Regions from separate parts of the Homo sapiens genome. Here region 1 is linked to region 2. Evidence: promoter capture Hi-C in human tissues and cell types (Jung and others, 2019). All regions are on one chromosome and are shown on one strand. Each heading gives the region's core, a stretch centred on a gene start or on the middle of the fragment in contact. The rest is flanking DNA. Distances are from core to core; before and after follow the strand shown. Region 1 overlaps ADGRE2 (adhesion G protein-coupled receptor E2). Region 2 holds the start of CLEC17A (C-type lectin domain containing 17A).

The links. The method cuts DNA at HindIII sites, captures the fragments that hold promoters and counts their contacts. A contact is called where the count stands out against the background at its distance.
Region 1: a fragment that was not itself captured here is called in contact with the fragment with the promoter of CLEC17A in region 2 in 1 of the 25 tissues and cell types used here (spleen).

The regions. Positions count from the first base shown.
Region 1 is chr19:14,751,720-14,758,812 of GRCh38, reverse strand. ADGRE2 (adhesion G protein-coupled receptor E2) reads left to right here. Exons shown (of 21, transcript NM_013447.4): 12 at 2,468-2,575; 13 at 2,936-3,159; 14 at 3,686-3,859; 15 at 6,287-6,484. Among named protein-coding and RNA genes, the nearest start is that of ADGRE2, 23 kb to the left of the region's middle. RefSeq lists an enhancer at 1-100. The HindIII fragment of the contact is 3,126 bases long and covers 319-3,444 here.
Region 2 is chr19:14,579,499-14,586,360 of GRCh38, reverse strand. It overlaps CLEC17A (C-type lectin domain containing 17A), which reads right to left and starts at 3,277. Exons shown (of 14, transcript NM_001204118.2): 1 at 3,158-3,277; 2 at 2,927-3,004. The coding sequence starts at 3,200. It also overlaps the pseudogene RN7SL337P. RefSeq lists enhancers at 804-853, 2,993-3,162, 5,604-5,653 and a silencer at 3,504-3,647. The HindIII fragment of the contact is 21,633 bases long and covers 1-6,862 here.

The sequences.
Region 1 (7,093 bases), core at 632-3,131, 170 kb before region 2:
CCCGGGGTCACGCCATTCTCCTGCCTCAGCCTCCGGAGTAGCTGGGACTACAGGCGCCCACCACCATGCCCAGCTAATTTTTTTGTATTTTTAGTAGAGACGGGGTTTCACCGTGTTATCCAGGTTGGTCTCGATCTCCTGACCTCGTGATCCTCCCGCCTCAGCCTCCCAAAGTGCTGGGATTACAGGCGTGAGCCACTGCGCCCAGCCAGAGCTATTCTTTTTTTCTTTCGCCTATTAAATCTCCACTCTTAAACTAACTTCTTATGTGTCCACATCCTCAATTTCCCTGGTGTGAAACAGTGAAACTTGGGTATTTACACCACTTCACTAGTGAGATGATACCTCATTGTGGTTTTGATTTGCCCTTCCCTGATAACTAATGATGTTTAACATCTTTTCATGTGTTTGCTCACCATTTGCATGTCATTTTTGGAGAAATGTCTATTCAAATCCTTTGCCTATTTTTAATTGTGCTGTTTGTCTTTTGGTTGTCCAGTTGTAAGCATTCTTTAAACATTCTGATAGTAGATCATCTGAGATGAATGATTTGCAAAATATTTTCTCCCGTTCTGTAGATTGTCTTTTCATTTTCTTGTCTTTTCACTTTAATGAATAGAAGTTTTAAATCTTGAAGACATTTATTTTATCTAATTTTTCTTTTGTTGCATGTGCAATTGGTGTCATATTTAAGAATTCATTGACAGGGGGTGGTGGCTCACGCCTGTAATCCCAGCACTTTGGAAGGCCAATGTGGGCGGATCACCTGAGGTCAGGAGTTTGAGACCAGCCTGGCCAACAAGGCGAAACCCTGTCCTTACTAAAAATAAAAATAAAAATAATTAACCAGATGTGTTGGCACATGACTGTAATCCTAGCTACTCAGGAGGCTGAGGCAGGAGAATTGCTTGAACCTGGGACACGGAGGTTGCAGTGAGCTGAGATTGTGCCACTACACTCCAGCCTGGATGACAGAGCAAGACTCTGTCCCAAAAATAAAAATAAAAAAAGAATTCATTACCGCATCCAAGACCAGGAAGATTTACCCCTGTTTCCTCCTAAGTGTTCTAGTTTTAGCTTCTAAGCTTAGGTCACTGGCTTATTTTGAGTTAATTTTTGTTTGTTGTGTGAGGGTAGGGTTAAAACTTCCTTATTTTCATGTTACTATCCAGTAATCCCAGCACTATTTGTTGAAGAGATTATTCTTTCCCCCATTGTATAGTCTTGGCACCCCTTGTTGAGAATCAACTGACCATAAGATGGATGGGTTTATTCCTGGACTCTCAATTCTATTCTGTTGTGTCCTTATGCCAGTATTACTGTCAGTTTGTAGTAAGTTTTGGAATCAGGTAGTGTGAATTCTCCAACCTTCTTGTTCTTCTTCAAGATTGTTTTTGGGTATTTGGATTCCTTACAACACCATATGAATTTTAAGATGAACTTTTCTTATTCTGCAAAGTAATAATAGGCTAAAATATTGATAGGGATTGCATTGAGTCTCTAGACCACTTTGGGGGAGTATTGTTATCTTAACAATAGAAAGTCTTCCAATCCATGAACATAGGCTGTCTTTCCATTTAGAGAGGGCCTTTTATTTCTTTCAAACACTTTTGTAGGCCAGAAGCAGTGGCTCACGCCCAATATTGTCAGAGGCCACCAAGGTGGGAGAATTGCTTGAGCCCAGGAGTTCAAGCCCAGCCTTGGAAATATACTGAAACATGATCTCCACAAAAAATTTAAAAATTAGCTGGCTGTGGTAGTGAGCACCTGTAGTGCCAGCTACTTGGGAGGCTGAGGTGGAAGGATTGGTTGAGCCCAGGAGACTGCAGTGAGCTATGATCATGCCACTGCACTCTAGCCTGACCAACAGGTGAGAATTTGTCTCAAAAAAAAAAAAATACTCAAAAAACTTTCCTATAAGTCTTGAGTCTCCTTCGTAAAATGTATTCCTAACATTTTTGCTGAAAATTTTTGCATCTATGTCCATAAGAAATATTGGTCTATAATTTTATTTTCTTGTGATGTCTTCATCTGGTTTTGTTATCAGAGCAATATTAGACTCATAAAATTACTTAAATAGTGTTTCCTCCTCTTCCATATTTTTAAAAAGGTAAAAGATTCATGTTCATTCTTTCTTAAGCTATTGGTAGAACTCACCAGTGAAGTCATCTGGTCTGGGCTGTTAGTTTTGAGAGGTTTTGATTACTGATTTAATCTGTTATAGGTCTGTTCAGATCTTCTATTTCTTCTTGAGTTGATTTCAGTGGTTTGTGTGTCACTAGGAATGTGTCCATTTCATCTAGGTTACCTACTTTGTAGATATACAGTTGCTCACACTATTCTCTTCCGATATTTTGTAACTTCAGACTATATATGTATATAGTATATATATTAAGTCATAGTATATCAACCACTGCAGGCACGATTCCTAACCTAACCCCCCTTATGTAATTCCCACAACTCATAGAATTGTCCCTGGAGGTGCAGAAGCAAGTAGACAGGAGTGTCACCTTGAGACAGAATCAGGCAGTGATGCAGCTCGACTGGAATCAGGCACAGAAATCTGGTGACCCAGGTAATGGCTGAGATGGGGAGGTGGTCAGTGAAGCTTCATGGTGGGAAAAGATGCCCAAGAATGTGAAAAATAAGAAATTTAAAGATTAAAGGGAAGTGTGGGATGTTTGGAGTGGGGCTGTAAGAGGAGAGTCCAGCTGAGGAGGAACGGACCTTGTTGGGGACCCTGAGATATTAACCGTGGCCTTGTCCTGCAGGATGTGATACACATAGAACTAAAGATTGAAGGAAAGTGTGGGAGGGGTGAAGCCAAAGGAAGGTAGCCCATCTGAGTAGAAAGTTCTGTGCAGGGCAGAGGAACTCTGGTGTGGACCCAGAGATTCAACCTACTCCAAGATTCAACCTTGGCCTCGCCCTGCAGGCCCTTCTGTGGTGGGCCTTGTCTCCATTCCAGGGATGGGCAAGTTGCTGGCTGAGGCCCCTCTGGTCCTGGAACCTGAGAAGCAGATGCTTCTGCATGAGACACACCAGGGCTTGCTGCAGGACGGCTCCCCCATCCTGCTCTCAGATGTGATCTCTGCCTTTCTGAGCAACAACGACACCCAAAACCTCAGCTCCCCAGTTACCTTCACCTTCTCCCACCGTGTGAGTGCTGGTGGAGTTGGTTGGTGGGTGAATAGTCTGAGTCCGGGCATAGCCTTGCTGCTCAGCTCAGCCCTGGGGCTCAGGGGTCTCTGTTATGGGTACATTATCTCCCCAGGAAAGTCAGTCCTTCCCAAGCCGGCTTTGGGTAAGCATTTCTGAGCATCCGACCCACCAGCTCACACCTGTGTTCTTTTTTTTATTGAGACAGAGTCTCGCTGTGTCAGCCAGGCTGGAGTGCAGTGGCACGATCTCAGCTCACTGCAGTCTCCGCCTCCCAGGTTCGAGCGATTCTCCTGCCTCAGCCTCCCTAATAGCTGGGACTACAGGTGTGTGCTACCACGCCCAGCTAATTTTTGTATTTTTTTTTTTTTTTTTTTTTTTTAGTAGAGATGGGGTTTCACCATGTTGGCCAGGCTGGTCTCAAACTCCTGACCTCAAGTGATCCACCTGCTTCAGCCTCCCAAAGTGCTGGGATTACAGGCGTGAGCCACCATGCCCAGCCCACACCTGTGTTCTGTTCCTGCAGTCAGTGATCCCGAGACAGAAGGTGCTCTGTGTCTTCTGGGAGCATGGCCAGAATGGATGTGGTCACTGGGCCACCACAGGCTGCAGCACAATAGGCACCAGAGACACCAGCACCATCTGCCGTTGCACCCACCTGAGCAGCTTTGCCGTCCTCATGGCCCACTACGATGTGCAGGTGAGACCCTTAGGAGGGGATGCACTCTGCATTTATTGCCGTGTAACAAATCCCCAGAGACGTAGCAGCCTTTTAAAAAAATATATGCATTATCTCACAGCTCTGGGTCAGCAAGCTGGCATAGCAAGATGGCTTTTCTGCTCAGGGTCTTACAAGACTGAAATCATCATGTCACCCCACCCCCAGGGCTGCCATTTCATCTGAGACTTGAGGTCCTTCTCCAAGCTCCCTGGTTGCTGGCAGAATTCAGTTTCTTGTGATTGTAGGACTGAAGTCTCACTTTCTTAGCTGTCAGGAAGGCATCACATTCAGTTCCTAGAGGCCACTCATATCCCTTCTCACATGACCCTCTGGCAAACTTCTAGCATTCCTATCTGGAGGACAAGGAAAAAAATTTCCTCACGCAGAATCCCTCTTAAGCTTTGTATTAGTCGAGGTTCTCTAGAGGGACAGAACTAATGGAATAGATAGATAGATAGATAGATAGATAGATAGATAGATAGATAGATAGATAATTTCTGCCTGCTTATATTCTAGCCACGCTGGCAGCTGATTAGATGGTGCCCACCCAGATTAAGAGTGGATCTGCCTTTCCCAACCCACTGACTCAAATATATACATATATAGAGATATATAGAGAGAGATCTATATATATAGATAGATATAGATATATATAAAGGGGAGTTTATTAGGTATTAACTCACATGATCACAAGGTCCCACGATAGGCCGTCTGCAGGCTGAGGAGCAAGGAGAGCCAGTCCGAGTCCCAGAACTGAAGAACTTGGAGTCTGATGTTCAAGGGCAGGAAGCATCCAGCACAGGAGAAAGATGTAGGCTGGGAGGCTAGGCCAGTCTCTCTTTTCACATTTTTCTGCCTGCTTATATTCTAGCCACGCTGGCAGCTGATTAGACAGTGCCCACCCAGATTAAGAGTGGATCTGCCTTTCCCAGTCCACTGACTCAAATGTTAATTTCCTTTGGCAACACCCTGATAGACACACCCAGGATCAATACTTTGTATCCTTCAATCCAATCAAGTTGACACCCAGTATTAACCGTCACAAGTTTTGAATCTGATTCTCCAGGAAGAGCCCAGAGCTTATAAAGACTCATCTGATTAGGTCTGGCCCACCCAGGGTAAACTCTGCCTTTTTTTTTTTTTTAGACAGGGTCTCTGTCACCCAGGCTGGAGTGCAGTGGCACAGTCATAGCTCACTGCAGCCTTGACCTTCTGGGTTCAAGGGATCCTCCTGCCTCAGCCTCCTGAGTAGCTGGGACTACAGGCATGCACCACCATGCCCGGCTAATTTTTGTATTTTTACTAGAGATGGGGTTTCACCAAGTTGGCCAGGCTGGTCTCGAACTCCTTACCTCAAGTAATCCACCCGCCTCGGCCTCCCAAAGTGCTGGTATTACAGGCAGGAACCACCACACCTCGCCCACCTGACTTTCTTATCTCATCACTTAGAGTAGATCCAAGGGACATCATCATCATATCCTGCGGGAGAAAGGGCCAAACCACCCTTTTGTTTTCCATGACAGGAACATCTTATCAATATCCTCCCAGGCAGCAAGCCATACCGCCCAGCCCCTCCCGCCCAGACCTGTAATTACCCCAGCCTGTAAGCGGCAGTGGGTTCTGGCACGAAGCTAGCTCCCCCCTCCACAAGTCTCCTGCTGGACATAAACCTGCATTGCTGTAGAGCTGCCAACTCTCTGTCTTTCTTTAACTCTCACTTTCCCTTCAAAACCTAACGGGCCCACACCTGGAATCTCTGTGCTTTGGGAGGCTGAAACGGGAGGATCACTTGAGCCCAGGAATTCGAGACCAGCCTGTGCAACACAGAAAGACCCTGTCTCTACAAAAATAAAAAAAAAATTAGGACGGGTGTGGTGGCTCACGACTGTAATCCCAGCACTTTGGGAGGCCGAGGCGGGTGGATCATGAGGTCAGGAGTTCAAGACCAGCCTGGCCAACATGGTGTGACCCTGTCTCTACTAAAAGTATAAAAATTAGCCTGGCATGGAGGCACGTGCCTGTAATCCCAACTACTTGGGAGGCTGAGACACGAGAATCGCTTGAACCGAGGAGACAGAGGCTGCAGTGAGCAGAGATCGCACCACTGCACTCCAGCCTGGGCGACAGAGCAAGACTGTCAAAAAAAAAAATTAGCAGGGCATGGTGCCATACATGACTATAATGCACACCCGTTGTCACCTACATGACTACGCCTGTATTCCTAGCCACCCATGAGGCTCGGGTGACACCTTCGCAAATTAAATTAAATTGGTGACATCTTCACAAATTTACCTGGCTCCCTCATTCTTGAATGTGCTATGCCAAAGTAAAAATTTTAAATGGTGGTGGGGTCATTACCCCAGAGCAGGAAAGCATCACTGTGAACTCTTCTTTTCCGGGTCCCAGGAGGAGGATCCCGTGCTGACTGTCATCACCTACATGGGGCTGAGCGTCTCTCTGCTGTGCCTCCTCCTGGCGGCCCTCACTTTTCTCCTGTGTAAAGCCATCCAGAACACCAGCACCTCACTGCATCTGCAGCTCTCGCTCTGCCTCTTCCTGGCCCACCTCCTCTTCCTCGTGGCAATTGATCAAACCGGACACAAGGTATTGACAGCGGTGTTCCAGAGGGCTCCCTTCCTTGACGCAGGACACGCTGGCTCATGGAATGATGCGGCATTTGATTCCTTAATATAATAGCCCGGCTGGGCGTGGTGGCTCATGCCTGTAATCCCAGCACTTTGGGAGACTGAGGTGGGCGGATCACCTCAGGTCGGGAGTTTGAGACCAGCCTGACCAACATGGAGAAACCCCGTCTCTACTAAAAATACAAAATTAGCCAGGCATGGTGGCGCATACCTGTAATCCCAGTTACTCAGGAGGCTGAGGCAAGAGAATCTCTTGAACCCAGGAGGTGGAGGTTGTGGTAAGCCGAGATCGCACCATTGCATGCCAGCCTGGGCAACAAGAGTGAAATTCCGTCTCAAAAAAAAAAAAAAAAAAATATATATATATATATATATGTGTGTGTGTGTGTGTGTGTATACGTATATATACACGTATATATATATAGGCCCTTGAGTCCTGGGGAATATTAGAAGAGAACACCACCAATTTCCCATTGCCTGACTCAACTACACAGCAAATATTCTCTATAATGCCATCAAATATCTCAGAATTCTCCCCAACAACATGGTACAGGAGAAGCCATGGGCC
Region 2 (6,862 bases), core at 2,028-4,527:
CCTGAGGTCGGGAGTTCGAGACCAGCCTGACCAACATGGAGAAACCCCATCTTTTCTAAAAATACAAAATTAGCCGGGCACAGTGGCACATGCCTGTAATCCCGCTGCCAGGGAGGCTGAGTCAGGAGAATCACTTGAACCCGGGAGGCAGAGGTTGCTGTCAGCCAAGATTGCACCATTGCACTCCGGCCTGGGCAGCAAGAGTGAAACTCCGTCTCAAGAAAAAAAAAAAAAAAAAGTAAAGAAATTAAGAAACATTAAAATATGTTTTTATATAGACTAAGTATTACTGCTCTAAACCTAATAAAACAGAGCAATGGGATAGGATAAAAGCTAATGTAGAGAGGTCATCAGGAAGTACCTCCTGGAAGTGGTAACATTTGTAACAAGATGTTAAGGGGATAGGTGTTAAGTATTCCCCCACATTCCATGGTGAAGTACCAGGGCACTGGGTCAGTTATCTATGGCTGCACAACCAATTACCCCAAAACGCAGTGACTTAAAACAACCATAAGCATTTATTATCTCACAGTTTCTGTGGTTCAGGAATCTGAGAGCAGCTTAGCTGGGTAGTTCTAGCTTGAGATCTCTTGCGTGATTGTAGTCAAGATGTTGCCTGGGACTGCAAGTCATCTGCAGGCTTGACTGGGGCTAGAGGATCTGCTTCCAAGATGATGCACTCACATGGCTGTTGGTGGGAGGCCTCAGTTCCTTGCCATGTGAGCCTCTCCAAAGGGATGACTGGGCATCTTCACAACATGGCAGAGGCAAAGATAGAAGCCACCATGCTCCTATGATCTAGCCTCACAAGTCACAAAGGATGGTCTCCACTATACAGTATTCTATTTATCACATGGACCAGCTCTGAGTCATTGTGGGAAGAGACTACACAAGGGCACGAATATGAGAACGTAAGGGTCACAGGGAACCCATCTTGAAGGCTGACTACCACAGTCATCTCTGCAGAACTTACAGGCCCTGAGAGTCATATGAGTCATATATGTAGACCCTGAGCTTCACATGAGGCTTTACAGACAGTGACTCATGCCTGTAACCCCAGCTACTCGGGAGGGTGTAGTAGGAGGATTGCTTGGACCCAGGAGCTCAAGGCTGCAGTGAGCTATGATTGCACCACTTCAGGGCAGCCTGGGTGACAAGCAAGACCCTGTCTCAAAAATATTTTTTTTAAATTCTCTGGTTTCCTCTCATAAAAACTAATGAGCAGACAATTCACAGTTCTCTTCTCTGTGTGTCTCTTTGAGGGTTTGATTGAAAGGAGAAGGGATGGAAGGGGATGGAGGGGATTTTAAAAAACAAAAACAGTTGCGTTTCAGGATGGGGATGAAGATGAGGTGGGGTTTGGATTAGAATTGGTGTTGGGATGGGGTGGGATGGGATGGAAAATGGGTTGGGGACAGGGATGGATGTGGGTAAGGTCATGATGTGGTTAGGATGAAGAACAGAGTCCTTGCCAGGTTTGGGAATGGGGAAGGAGTCGAGGCTGGGCTATAGTAGAGAGGGTGATGAAGTTGGATTGGAGAGTGGATGCTGGGCTGCATGTGGATGTGGGGACAGGACTGTGCTTTTGGAGCAGACGTGGCCCTGAAGAAGGGAATGGGATTGGTTGGTCATATATGTAGACCCAGGGCTTGAGGGTCACATTAGGACCATAAATTGGAAATGGGGCAGTGAAACAACACAGCACAGGTCACCTCCTACCTCAGGCAAGTCCCACCATATTTCTGGACCTCCCAGGTGGCCCCACTTTGGACTCAGAGATGGGGGATATACAGCCTCAGCCCTCACAGAATGGCTCCTGTCTAAGGTCACCAGGACCAGGCCATCAGCATATCTCAGGGATTTTCTGTTTTGGGCCTCCGGGATCTCTCATGGCCTCAGGGTCCCTGGTGGCAGTAAACTCAGGAATACCTCAAAAACCTCCGGTTTCATTTTCTCTATTTTTTTAGAAGTGGAGTCGCGCTATGCTGCCCAAGCTGGAGTGCAGCGGCTACTCACAGGAGCAGTCGCACTACTGATCAGCTTGGGGGTGTCGAACTGCTCCGTTTCCAACCTGGAAACCCCTCCTCAGACACCTTAGGCAACCTGGTGGTCCCCTGCTCCCAAAACATCACCATATTGATGCCAAACTTAGTGCAGACGCCCGATCGCCTAGTTCACAATCGCCCAGAACTCCTGGGCTCAAGTGATCCTACTGACTCAGCCTCCCAAGTAGCTGGGACTACAGACATGTGCCACCACACACGGCCCAAACCTCTATTTTTTTTTTTTTTTGGCAGAGATAGGGTCTTGCTATGTTGCCCTGGCTGGTCTCAAATTCCTGTCCTCAAGCGATCCTCCCACCTTGACCTCCCAAAGTATCAAGACTACAGACGCACACCACTGCAGCTGGCCCAAACCTCCACTTTAACAACCACTTATCAGTCTCTTGTTGAACCCTGTGCTATGCCTTGGGTTTGAGATCCAAGTCTAAATAAAACCTGGGCTTTGGGTAGAAAGGTGAGGAGACTGGGAGCCCACAGTCCACTCCCAGTTTCTCAAGCACCAGCTTTTGTAACTCAGAGACTTTGCACCTAACTGTTCTCTCCTGGACTTCTCTTCTTAAGATATGTCTACTCATCCCTCAAGCCCCACCCCAAAGTCCCTTCCTCTATTTGAGCCCTCAGTCCCCCAAGGATTTTGCCAATCTCCTGACCCCTCCTCTCTCACCCTGCTCACCAAGACTGTGCCCAAACCCACCTCCGCCATCAGACTGACAGGTCGTCCTGGGCAGGGTGTGGGTTCCACAGTGCCCGGCATGGGCTGGATACAGAGGAGACTGACTATGTGTCTACAATGCCCAACCAATGCCCACTGGAGACCCCATTCCCTGTATTCCCCCAGGTCACACTCCAAAAAGTCCTCTTACCTGGCTTGGGAGGAAGGTCCTTGTAGGGAGGTGTTGAGTTCTCATAGTCATCATCCTCCTCCTCCTCCTCCATGGTCCCTTCCAGGGGAAAGGCAAGTCAGAGCCCAGCCATTCCCTCCTCCCTCCATCCCTCAAGCCCTGGTCTCTGCCTCAGCTGCCCCATGGTGGGGATTCTGTACCCTGGGTCCTGACCACACCTAGGCCCCAGCCCCAGCCTGGCCGGGGCCTTACCTGGTGGGTCCGGGTACCCAGTGATGGAATACAGATTATGCATGTCTAGCACAGGGAACCTGACAAGTGGCAGCCAGGGCTTGGCAACCTCTGCCCCCTGTCTCTCCGACTCAGGCGTCTGGGGGCTCTCTCAGTTCCCTTTTCCTTTCAAAGTCAAATACATGCAAATTCATTTTGACAGGAAGCCCTCAGACCTCACACGTGCTCACACAAACACACACACACACACACACACACATACACACAGAGCCTTTCTCCCCAGTTTGGATTCACGCACAGAAGGAATAATGACAACTGGCCTGGTGTGGTGGCTCTCGCCTGGAATCCCAGCACTTTTAGAGGCTGAGGTGGATGGATCACTTAAGGCCAGGAGTTCGAGACCAGGTTGGCCAACATGGTGAAACCCAGTCTCTACTAAAAATACAAAAATTAGCCAGGCGCAGTGGCAGGCGCCTGTAATCCCAGCTACTCAGGAGGCTGAGGCAGGAGAATCGCTTGAACCTGGGAGATGGAGGTTGCAGTTAGCCGAGATCACGCCACTGCACTCCAGCCTGAGTGACAGAGTGAGACTCTGTCTCAATAAATAAATAAATTAATTTTTTAAAAAACATTAAATATTAATTAATTAATTAAGGGTCTTGAGATGGATGGTTTATCCTGGATTACCTAGGTGGGCCTTAAATGGCTTTACAGGCCAGGCATCGTGGCTCACGCCTGTAATCCCAGCACTTTGGGAGGCCGAGACAGGCAGATCACGAGGTCAGGAGATCGAGACCATCCTGGCTTACACAGTGAAACTCCGTCTCCACTAAAAATACAAAAAATTAGCTGGGTGTGGTGGCGGGTGCCTGTGGTCCCAGCTACTCGGGAGGCTGAGGGAGGAGAATGGCGTGAACCCAGGAGGTGGAGCTTGCAGTGAGCCGAGATCGCACCACTGCACTCCAGCCTGGGTGACAGAGCGAGACTCCGTCTCAAAAAAAAAAAAAAATGGCATTACAAGGGTCCTCGTAGAAGGGAAACAGAAGGAGATTTGACACAAAAAAAAGGCAATGTGGTCACTAAAGTTATGCTGGCTTTGAAGATGCAAGAAGGAGCCATATGCTAAAGAATGCAACTGCAGAGGCTGGAAACAGCAAGAAAATGGATTCTCACGCTGCAGCCTCTTAAAGAAGCATGGCCCAGCCCATGAACACCTGGGTTTCAGCAGTGAGACTGATGTTGGTCTCCTGACTCCAGAACTATAAAATAATCTGGCCGGGTGCAGTGGCTCACACCTGTAATCCCAACACTTTGGGAGGCCGAGGTGGGTGGATCACGTGAGGTCAGGAGTTTAAGACCAGCTTGGCCAACATGGTGAAATCCCATCTCTACTAAAAATACAAAATTAGCCAGATATGGTGGCGCGCACCTGTAATCCCAGCTACTCAGGAGGCTGAGGCAGGAGAATCGTTTGAACTCGGGAGGTAGAGGTTGCAGTGAGCCGAGATCACATCATTGCACTCCTGCCTGGGCAACAAGAGTGAAACTCCATCTCAAAAAAATAAAATAAAATAATCCATATAATCCATTTCTGGCCAGGCGCGGTGGCTCACGCCTGTAATCCCAACACTTCGGGAGGCTCAGACAGGTGGATCACTTGAGGTCAGGCATTCGAGACCAGCCTGGCCAACATGATGAAATCCCATCTCTACTAAAGTTACAAAAAAAAAAAGAATAGCTGGACATGATAGCGGGCACCTGTAATGCCAGCTACTCGGGTGGCTGCGGCAGAAGAATCGCTTGAACCCGGGAGGCGGAGGCTGCAGTGAGCCAAGATCTCGCCACTGCATTCCAGCCTGGGCAAAAGAGCAGGACTCTATCTCAAAATAGTAACAATAATAATAATTATTATTTCTGTGGTTCCGAGTCACTCAATTTATGAGTAATTTGTTAGAGTCACTATAGGAAACTAATATGTACCCCAAGGGGCAAGACCCCAATTTCCCTTTGTAGAGGTTTTTACTAAAAGTAAGAGGAAATGCAACTCAGATTGGCTTCAACAACAAGGAACATTCATCAGGCCCATGGGGAACATTAGGTTGGGTTTCCATAACTGAGACTCAGAACAAGAGTGTCTCAAACAAAATAGAATGTATTTCTTACCTGACAGGCTCAGTATAAGCAAGTGAGAGCCTCTAACAAATGGAAAAACCTTCCCCCGCACCGCACGTGGGCAATGGGGTAGCCCCGGTCTTAATTGAGGTAGGAGGGCAGCAGCAGATTAACCTCCCTTTCCATTCAAAGCTGACTCTAGGGGCTGGGCTTTCCCCTCTTACATGGCCTGATGTCATAGAGCCTTCCCAGCCTGTAGGAGGGCAAACGTGACTGTACCCATTCCAACCTGTAGGAGGGCAAATGTGACTGTACCCATTCTAGAGATGGGAAAATGGAGACCTGTCTGAGAAGGAAGAAAGAGCCCGTCTGTTCAGCCAACATCTGCTAAGCACACACAAGCTAATCAGGCTCCAGATGGATGGGGGTGGGGAGCAGCTGCAAACAGACATAGGAGGATAGGAGAAGGGGAATAGTAACAGGGGGAGGGACAGGTCAATAGGTCAAAAAGACTGACGGTATATCTGCCCATCAAGAGCACTTTTTAGGCTGAGCATGGTGCCTCATGCCTATAATCCCAGCACTTTGGCAGGCCAAGGCAGGAGGATCTCTTGAGGCCAGGAGCTTGAGACCATCCTGGACAACAAAGTGAGACCCCAACTATACAGAAAAACAAAATTTTTTAGGCTGGGCACGGTGGCTCACGCCTGTAATCCCAGCACTTTGGGAGGCTGAGGTGGGCGGATCACCTGAGGTCAGGAGTTCGAGATCAGCCTGGCAAACATGGTGAAACCCTGTCTCTACTAAAAAATACAAAAATTAGCCGGGCGTGGTGGCAGGCGCCTTAATCCCAGCTACTTGGGAGGCAGAGGCAGGAGAATCATTTGAACCCAGGAGGCAGAGGTTGCAGTGAGCCGAGATCGAGCCATCACACTCAAGCCTGGGGGACAAGAACGAGACTTCTCTCAAAAAAAAAATTTTTTTTAATTAGCTGGGCATGGTGGTGCATGCCTGTAGATCCAGCTACTTGGGAGGCTGAGGTGGGAGGATCGCTTGAGCCCAGGAGATTGAGGATGCAGTGAGCTGTGATCATACCACTGTGCTCAAGCCTGGGCAACAGAGCAAAACTCTGTCTCAAAAAAAAAAAAAAAAAAAAAAAGCACTCTTAGAGGTAAGGGGACCTTCTTACAATAAAGGCTGGGTGGTCTCATGGTATAGGGGTGATAGCTACCTGGCCAATACCATCCCTCGGGACCTGGCACACAGTAGGTATTCAGGAACAGATGTTGGAATCCAGCCCCATTCACTGAAATAACAAGGCTATGAGCCCAGGCTGCTTCCAGCTCAGGCCCATTCTTGCTGTGTCACCTTGGGGGTGCAGAACAACATCTCTGAGCATTAGTCTCCTGATATGTCAAACAGGGATTCATTTGTTCATTCATTGATTCAACAGATAAGTACTGACCACCTACTCTGTGTTAGGCTCTAACACATAAGAACCGAAATACACTGGTGAACAACAACAAAAAATTTTACCCATGGGAGCAGCAACAGGGAGAAAGAGAGTGAATAAAATAAATAACTCAACTACATTAGAAGTTATGTTAGATAGTC